2 separate regions of the Homo sapiens genome follow, and region 2 is linked to region 1. The links are contacts of gene promoters, found by promoter capture Hi-C in blood cells and fetal thymus (Javierre and others, 2016). All regions are on one chromosome and are shown on one strand. Each heading gives the region's core, a stretch centred on a gene start or on the middle of the fragment in contact. The rest is flanking DNA. Distances are from core to core; before and after follow the strand shown.

Region 1 (4,374 bases), core at 654-3,153:
ACATGGAAAATATCTACACTTAAATGCATATATTTCAAACTTTGCAAAGAGTAGCTGTATTTCATAGGATGCTGAGTAAGACCTTGAAACAGGGCAGGATCTACAGAATGAAGAACTGGAGACCCATCCAGGACCCTAACAATGATGGGTTAACCAAATAGGGTCAATCCTTGAAAAAAGATGAAGCAGGGGCAGTAGTCTGCAGGACTTGTTTCCACAGATTCCATTTCTCCTTCGTGTCCCGCAGCCTCACATGCACAAAGTGCTGACTCATCTGGACCTTCCCTTGCCCTTCTTCCAAAGCAGGGCCCCATGTATTCATGGAGGTTACATAGCAAGTGGAGAAGTAATAAAATCAGTTATATAAGTCACACTGTACTAAGTGCTATTTTTTAAATATTGAACACATTGATAGGTTGTGGTCCTCAACCCTGCATGAACATTAATAATCATCGTGGAAGCTTTTTAAAATACAAACAACTGGGCCCCACTCAAACAATTAAATCAGAATCTGTAGGAATAGGCCCAAGAAGTAGCTTTTTTTAAAAAGGTCCCTAGATGATTACAACATACAGCCAAGTGGGAGAACCACTAGTATAGAGTGGCCAGGGACTGTTATTCGTTTCAGTTGGTAAAAGGATGGCCTTTCCAAAATGATGTTTGAATTGTAACTTAAATTGTCAGGTCAGGACAACCCAATTCCCAGGCAATGGGGAAGGCTAACCCCACTTCAGTGATTTATCCCTTCGTTTCCTTTCTCAGTAACAAATAACAGCACTCTATTGGCCCCAAAGAGATTGTGAGGATAACAGACATGGAAAAAAAAATACTAAACAAATTCAAAGAAAAGCAGAACCCAAACACTACGGAGAAATAGTATACTGCTGCCTCCAAACAATTATCAGGGTCTGGGAGTCCTGCCAGTTTCAAATATATCCTGATGTTCCAAATGATAATTAACCACAGTGAGGAGCGGGGAGGCCCACCAAAGCAGTGTGATTCTTTATCTTTAGGAAATGTGGCAACAATCCCCCTTTAATGTAAATAATGAAAAGCAAAGAAAATTTACAATTTTGCACAAATGCTGCATAAATCCTGCCTCGGAACCCCTCTTATTACCACCCTAGTGGCCTTTGATCAGGCAGAAATGGGCAACAGGCCAGGGTCTCCATATCACACCTTGTAAAGTTACACTCGTTTCTCCCCATACGACCTGAATCTGATGTCCCCAAACGGCAGCTCAGTAAGGCCAGAACAGTCCACCGTGTGACAGCAGCGCCAGCCAAGAGGCAGCTGGTGCCCAGAGCAGCGATGAGCCGAGAGATATGAGATGGGCAGGGAGGCGTCGCCAAGTGCTCCGCACCGGGTTAGTGAAGGTGCCTGGAGGACAGAAGTCTTTCGCTGCGGCGTGGAGGTCCGAACTGTACCGAGCTGTGGCGTTGCCGCAAGTGGAGGAAACTGAGGATGGAGATGCTCGCTCCCGGCCCCGCCCCGCCCCGCCCCGCCGGTACTAGCCTGGGCTCCGGCTTCTTAGCTGCGACGCTTTGGCAACCCAGGGCTCCAATTCTGCCTATGCCTTCGACCCGGGCCTCCCCTCCCTGGCACCTATGCCCACAGCCACGACTCCAGGGGCTGCACCTATCAGCACGGGGCTGGGGACTCGGGAGCAGATGCGCGCGGAGGGAGGGGCTTCGCAGTCTAGGAGCGCGCTGGCAGAGCCGGGCAATGGGTCGCTCCGCCCGCAGCGGCCCCTCCCGACGTCCGCACACAGACCACATCCAGCACTCACCTCCGGGACCCGCCCGCCCTTCGCTCTCCGGGGGCCAGGGATCCTGACGCCCCGGTCGGTCGCCGCAGCGCCAGGCCGCTAGCCCCCCGCTTCCTCACCCGGCGACGTCTCCTCACCTCCGACCCCCGGCTACGATTGGTGGAGCTTCGGCGGGGGCGGGCCGAGGGCGTTGACTGACAGCAGCACGCGCCGGGCGGAACCCACAGGCCTGGAAGCGAAGTTGGCACCCTGGCGCTCTACGCCGCCAAGCTCCTGCTCGCGACGCGACACTGCAGCTGTCGCCCCGCGGATCGAGGTCTGGCCCCTCTCACGACCCAACTCCTCGTGAACTTCGGACGTCTGAGTTTCCTGGGAGCATCCACCTACCTCAAGGCTTTTCGCTTGTCAGCGAAAGTGCCCACAACCGCAGTTGACTCTAGTAGGGCAGTCTTTCCTGTGGAGTGATGGAATTTATTGTGCCCTGAACCAGAGAAATGCGATTTGCCAAGTATAAGCACGGATATAGCGGATCCTTGAATCTTTTCCTTGCTTTGACATTAGTCAACAACTTCTACTCGCCAGTAAAACAGCCCGTTCCTTTTACTCTCACTGTACATGATGTCGGTCTCTTGGCAAAGCATACTTTCCTCACCCTCCACCATCCCCAATTCTGGGTTATCCTATTTTGGACATTTTTCTAACTGGTAAAACGTCGGTAGCAGTTTTGTGAAATTCAGGAACTGAGAGGAGTCCTGAGAAGACACTTGTTCAAGAAACCAGAAGGAATTGTGGGCTGCACCGTGTTTCTCTGTGCTTGGAGCACAGTGGGGTTAACACAGGCCCCAAAAGCAGGCCTGCCCCCGGACTATTACCCCAAGGTTTAAGAAAAATAATTAATGTACATGACAACTAAGTATTTTTCCATTTCTTGACCATAATGGACTCTGCATGCTCATTCAGATGTTTTCATGGCAGGCCTGCTTCGTGGGCAACCAGATCCGTGAATGGGATAAAAGGAAGTTCTGCCACAGGGTGGAAGATCTCTTCTGTAGTAATGATCTTCTTTTTTTTTTTTTTAATATACTTTAAGTTCTAGGGTACATGTGCACAACGTGCAGGTTTGTTACATATGTATACATGTGCCATGTTGGTATGCTGCACCCATTAACTCGTCATTTACATTAAGTATATCTCCTAATGCTATCCCTCCCCCCTCCCCCTACCCCACAACATGCCCAGGTGTGTGATGTTCCCCTTCCTGTGTCCAAGTGTTCATTTATGCAGCCAACAAACACATGAAAAAATGCTCATCAGCACTGGCCATCAGAGAAATGCAAATCAAAACCACAATGAGATACCATCTCACACCAGTTAGAATGGCGATCATTAAAAAGTCAGGAAACAACAGGTGGTGGAGAGGATGTGGAGAAGTAGGAACACGTTTACACTGTTGGTGGGACTGTAAACTAGTTCAACCATTGTAGTAATGATCTGATACTCCTTCTTCCTCGAGGAAATACAGCACTCTGGGACCTTTTGAGGACATAAAAGGGTAGCTTCCTTCTGCTATCGAAGAAGAGCCTCATATACTAGACTTCTGCTCTGATTATGCTTTATCTCCCAGTAGGATCCCCCGCCTCATGTACAGCTTGGCTGTCTTACAAGTGGTAAAATACTTAGGACAAGATGACTTCTAGGTCATGGTTTTGGACCTCATTGACCCCATTCTCCCCCAAGCACTCATAACCCTGAGGCATTTGAGTGATCTTACCTATATTTACCTATATTTTACAGTCATAACCACAAATAAGAGCAGCCACTGCACTCCAGCCTGGGTGACAGAGTGAGGCCCTGTCTCAAAAAATAAAAAAATGTTTATATGATGATATGAAACCAAAGGAACTGGTCATTTCTGCCCCATCTGAAAATGTAGTTTACACACTAGTGTTTATTAATGCTAAACTTGATTCTCTAAGCAAAACAAAGCATAGATCTTAAGAGTAGACAAATAAAAGCAAATAAACCTGTCCCTGATGGCAGAAGCTTGAGGCACAAGCACATTAAGTATTTTTATATTTCTTGACCACAGTGGACTCTGTGTTCATTCAGATGTTTTCACGGAGGCCTACATGCATACTCCTGAGCCCAAGTCAGTTCCTCATTCAGTTCCTTTGCTTCCTCCCTTTGAACAAGTCACTGAAATTTGGGCCCCAAGGCCATCTACCTACTGAAAATTAAGTGACCACTGTCACATTAGGTACCAACCACTCTGTTCCAAAACACCATGAACAATTGGAGGAGGCTGCCAAGGGTAAGAGACTGAAAGTGAGTGAAGTAGTTGATGTCACTACTGCGTTGGTCCATGCTCTCAAATTAATGGACATATTTTCCTTTTAAAAGTCATAATTGGCCAGGCGCGGTGCTCATGCCTGTAATCCCAACACTTTGGGAGGCTGAGGCAGGTGGATCTCCTGAGGTCAGGAGTTTGAGACCAGCCTGGCCAACATGGTGAAACCCCGTCTCTACTAAAAATACAAAAACATTAGCCGGGCATAGTGGCAGGCGCCTGTAATCCCAGCTACTCGGGAGGCTGAGGCAGAAGAATC
Region 2 (4,374 bases), core at 245-2,744, 210 kb after region 1:
GTGATTTTGTGATCTAGGTTGAAGTCCCTGATCCATCATTTATCATATATGTAAAAGTAACCAGCAAACTATCTTACAGGTACTTAATTCATGTTTGTTTCATTTTCCTTGTGATCTTTTCAAGGTAATCATTGAGACTCTCGTTTCTATCATTTTAAAAATGGAGATATACACGAAGATTTTTATTTGAGATTATGTATTTACAGATGCTTGTAATTTTTTATGGGGGGTGGAATGGAGTCTCTCATTCTGTCACCCAGGCTGGAGTGCAATGGCATGGTCTTGGCTCACTGCAACCTCCGCCTCCTGGGTTCAAGCGATTCTCCTGCCTCAGCCTCTCGAGTAGCTGGGACAACAGGCGCGTGCCACCACACCCGGCTAATGTTTGTATTTTTAGTAGAGACGGGGTTTCACTATGTTGGCCAGGCTGGTCTCGAACTCCTGACTTTGTGATCCGCCCACCTTAGCCTCCCTAAGTGCTGGGATTACAGGCGTGAGCCACCGTGCCCGGCCGATGCTTGTAATTTTTAAGTGAAGAAGATAAAGCTCAGAGAAGTCACATACCTATTTAGGAGCGGATCCAGTTCCCATATACCACACTGCAGAAGTTAAGGATGCATGTGCAGGACTAGGTATGAAAGGAAAAAAACGAAACAAAAAAAGGATGAAGATAGTAATCCATTCACCTTTCAGTTCTGTGAGTTTCATGAGGTGTGCCTGTCTTGTTCACCACTGTTTCCCCAGCACCTGGATTATACTAGTCTGGATAAATATCTATTGAAGAAATTAATGCAAGCTTCAGTAACCTCCTACAAACGGGTTAGGAAATGGAAAGGTAGTGTAGTATGAAGGGGTGGAAAGGGGGTGATCACTTTCCTCCCCATCAAAAGAGTCATGACAACATGCTTGTTAATAAAAGACAGGTTAACAAGAGAAAATTAATGTGCATAAGCATGGGAATGATACAACAAAATAAGAAAACTAAAAAAAGGGTCAGATGGTTGAAGTTTAATACTTTTCATAGGGGAGAGAGAGGTGGGGGGGCTACAGGCAATTTTAGAGGAGTAGTAAATGATTTTAGGAGAGATTAATGCAGAAATTCACTTGTAAATTATTCTCTTTGTAAACCAAGTGAAACTAGAGAACCAATAATAATTCGAAGGCCAGTCGTGGTGACTCACTCCCATAATCCCAGCTACTAGGGAGGCTGAGATAGAAGGATCACTTGAGCCCCGGAGGCAAGGTTGCAGTGAGCCAAGATCTCGCCACTGCACTCCAACCTGGGTGACAGAGTGAGACCCTGTCTCAAAAACAAAAAACAGTAGTTTGAGGCAAAGTTTGGGCTCTAAGTGTGGTGGTTAATTTTCAGTCTCTTCCTCTATGATGTGAGTTTTGTTTTTTTATGAGACCAGGTCGCACTGTGTTGCCCAGGCTGGAGTGTGGTGGCTATTCACAGGCATGATGATAGCACACTACAGCCTCAAACTCCTGGCCTCAAGAATCCTCCCATCTGAGACTCACAGGTAGCTGGGACTACATGTGTGCACCACTGTATCTGGCTTTGTGATATGTTTTAATTTCTTCTGGTTAATGAAATTTCAGGGAGGAAGCAGATAGAAAGCAATTGTGTTCTTTGATGTGTGTGGTTTCTAGGTAGATAAGAAACTTCAAAGAACAGTCTTATCCCGTGTTTTGGGGGAGGCAGAGGATTGAGAGGCAGGAGGTGGGGTGGGGAGATCAGAGAAACCTTGCGGCTGCTTCTCTAGTTCAGCATGTCAAAGCACCAAATTTTGGGGTACCGTTTTCTGACAATGAATAGGCAATGTAGTCCAAGGCAAAGAGCATTAGTTTTGCACCACACAAAAACTCGACTTAAATTCTAATTCTGCATTTTGCTAATTCTGTGAGTTTGTACTGGATAACAATGTTATGGAATATGTTATAACTATACAAATGGAATAATACATATAGGGTTACTGAGGGCATTGGGATAATAAAGGTTAAATCTATAATATGCTGCCTGGCCATGGTGAGAGCTTGCTTCATAGTAGCTATGGATTATAACCTCTAGTGAGCTATTTAAGTGGTTTAAAAGGCTGGAAATGGAAGGTAATATGAGCAATTATTATTTTAATTTAGATGTGTAATTTGTGAGGCGACAACTATAATATCTAACATTTATTCAAGCTTACTATACACCAAGCATTGTTGCAGGTATTCTACATGAAATTCAGTACATTAAATCATTACAACCCTGTGAATTAAGTGCTACTGTTACTCCCATTTTTATGGAAGAGGGAATTTGGGCACGGAAAAGATAAGTAAGAAGTGGAGCTGAACTTGAAATTCAGGCCAAGAGCTACCAAAAAAAAAAAAAAAAAAATTAGAGTGGAGAAGAAAAGTGGCTAATCTTGATTTCACTAACCTTAAGTAGGTTCTTTTTTTTGTTTTGTTTTTGTTTTTGTTTTGAGACAGGATCTCGTTCTGTTGCCCAGGTTAGAGTACAGTGGCTCATAGCTCACTGCAGCCTTGAACTCCTGGGCTGAAGTGATCCTCCTGCCTTAGCCTCCCAAAATTCTCGGATTACAGGCATGAGCCATTAAGTAGGTTCTTAATGTAGCCTTATAATTCTATTACATGTCCTCAGACTATTCTCAATTTCAGTGTACATCAGAATCACCTGAAGGACATGTTAAAACAGATTGCTGGGCCCCATTGCCAGTTTCTGATTCAGTTGACTCAATGGCTGGAGCCCTAAAATTTGCATTTCTAACTAGTTCCCAAGTAATGCTGATGCTGCTCGTTGGGGAACCACACTTTGAGAACCACTGCCCTAATTCACTCACTTTCCTATACTATTTCATGTTTTGTTGGCTCTCCAAAAATGTCCATTACGTCCTCCCACTTGGGATGATTTTGCTTTTTATTTTCAGTGAGAAAATAATAGTAATCAAACAGAACTTCTATATATTCTCAACCATATCTGAGGTGTGGTACCTGCATTTATACCTATATACTATGTGTTCTGTTACTTATGAAGTGGAGCCTGTCCTTGTTTACACACATCACTATTGTTCCATCCGATTTTTCTTTCTACTATTGAAACATTCCCAACATCATACATACATGCTTTTATGTCTCCTATCTTAGTAAAAGACTCTTCTCTTGATCTCATATCTTCCTGTAGCTCCTCATTCCTATTTTCCTTCATATAGAAACTTTGAAAAGATTGTTCATACTCTGTCTCCTATATCTCTGTCCATTCTTTTTTTTATCTTTTGAGACAGGGTCTTGCTCTGTTACCCAACCTGGAATGCAATGACATGATCTTGGCTCACTGCAACCTCCACATCACACGCTCAAACGATCCTCCTGGCTTAGCCCGCCAAGTAGCTGGGACTAAAGGTGAACACCACCATCCCTGGCTAAGTTTTGTAGAGACAGGGTTTCACAATGTTGCCCAGGCTGGTCTCAAACTCCTGGACTCAAGGGATCCACCTGCCTTGGCCTCCCAAAGTACTGGGAGTACAGGTATGAGCCACCACACCTAGTCCCGTCCCTTCTTTTCGTTTTTGTTTTTTTTGAGACGGAGTCTTGCTCTGTCACTCAGGCTGGAGTATAGTGGCACAGTCTCGGCTCACTGCAACCCCCGCCTCCTGGCTTCAAGCAGTTCTTCTGTCTCAGTCTCCTGAGTAGCTGGGATTACAGGCCTGTGCCACAACACCTGGCTAATTTTAATTTTTGTATTTTTAGTAGAGCTGGGGTTTCACCATGTTGGCCAGGCTGGTCTCAAACTCCTGACCTTTGAGCCACCGTGCTCCGCCTGTCCATTTCCTTTTTTTTTTTTTTTTTTTTGAGGAGTTTTGCTCTTATTGCCTAGGCTGGAGTGCAATGGTGTGATCTCGGCTCACCGCAACCTCCACCTCCAGGGTTCAAGCGATTCTCCTGCCTCAGCCTCCCAAGTAGCTGGGATTACAGACATGCACCACCATGCCCGGCTAATTTTTTTTGTATTTTTAGTAGAGATGGTGTTTCTCCATGTTCGTCAGGGTAGTCTCGAACTTCCGACCTCAGGTGATCTGCCTGCCTCGGCCTCCCAAAGTGCTGGGATTACAGGCCTGAGCCACCACACCCGGCCTTGTCCATTCTCTTTTAAACCTACTCCAGTTGGCTTTCTTTTCAATCCTCTATTGAAATTGCTGTTGTCAAGATAATCAGCAATGTCCTCATTCCTACATTCAGTGGTCAGCTCTCAGACTTCATCTTACCTGATCTGCAGCATGAAACACTTTTTTTCATTTTGCCTCCAGGACATTTTCTCTCTTTTCTTACTGGTTGCTCTACCTCAGTCTTACTTGCTGGGTTCTTCTCATC

The links. The method cuts DNA at HindIII sites, captures the fragments that hold promoters and counts their contacts. A CHiCAGO score of 5 or more calls a contact.
Region 2: a fragment that was not itself captured here is called in contact with the fragment with the promoter of NXPE3 in region 1 in 7 of 17 cell types (total CD8 T cells, naive CD8 T cells, non-activated CD4 T cells and 4 more); the score reaches 7.1 in total CD8 T cells.

Annotation. Positions count from the first base shown.
Region 1 is chr3:101,776,740-101,781,113 of GRCh38, reverse strand. It overlaps NXPE3 (neurexophilin and PC-esterase domain family member 3), which reads right to left and starts at 1,903. Exons shown (of 8, transcript NM_145037.4): 1 at 1,790-1,903. RefSeq lists enhancers at 1,181-1,230, 1,795-2,089 and a silencer at 1,641-1,990. The HindIII fragment of the contact is 3,350 bases long and covers 464-3,813 here.
Region 2 is chr3:101,568,528-101,572,901 of GRCh38, reverse strand. No RefSeq gene overlaps it. Among named protein-coding and RNA genes, the nearest start is that of PCNP, 3.5 kb to the left of the region's middle. The HindIII fragment of the contact is 1,391 bases long and covers 799-2,189 here.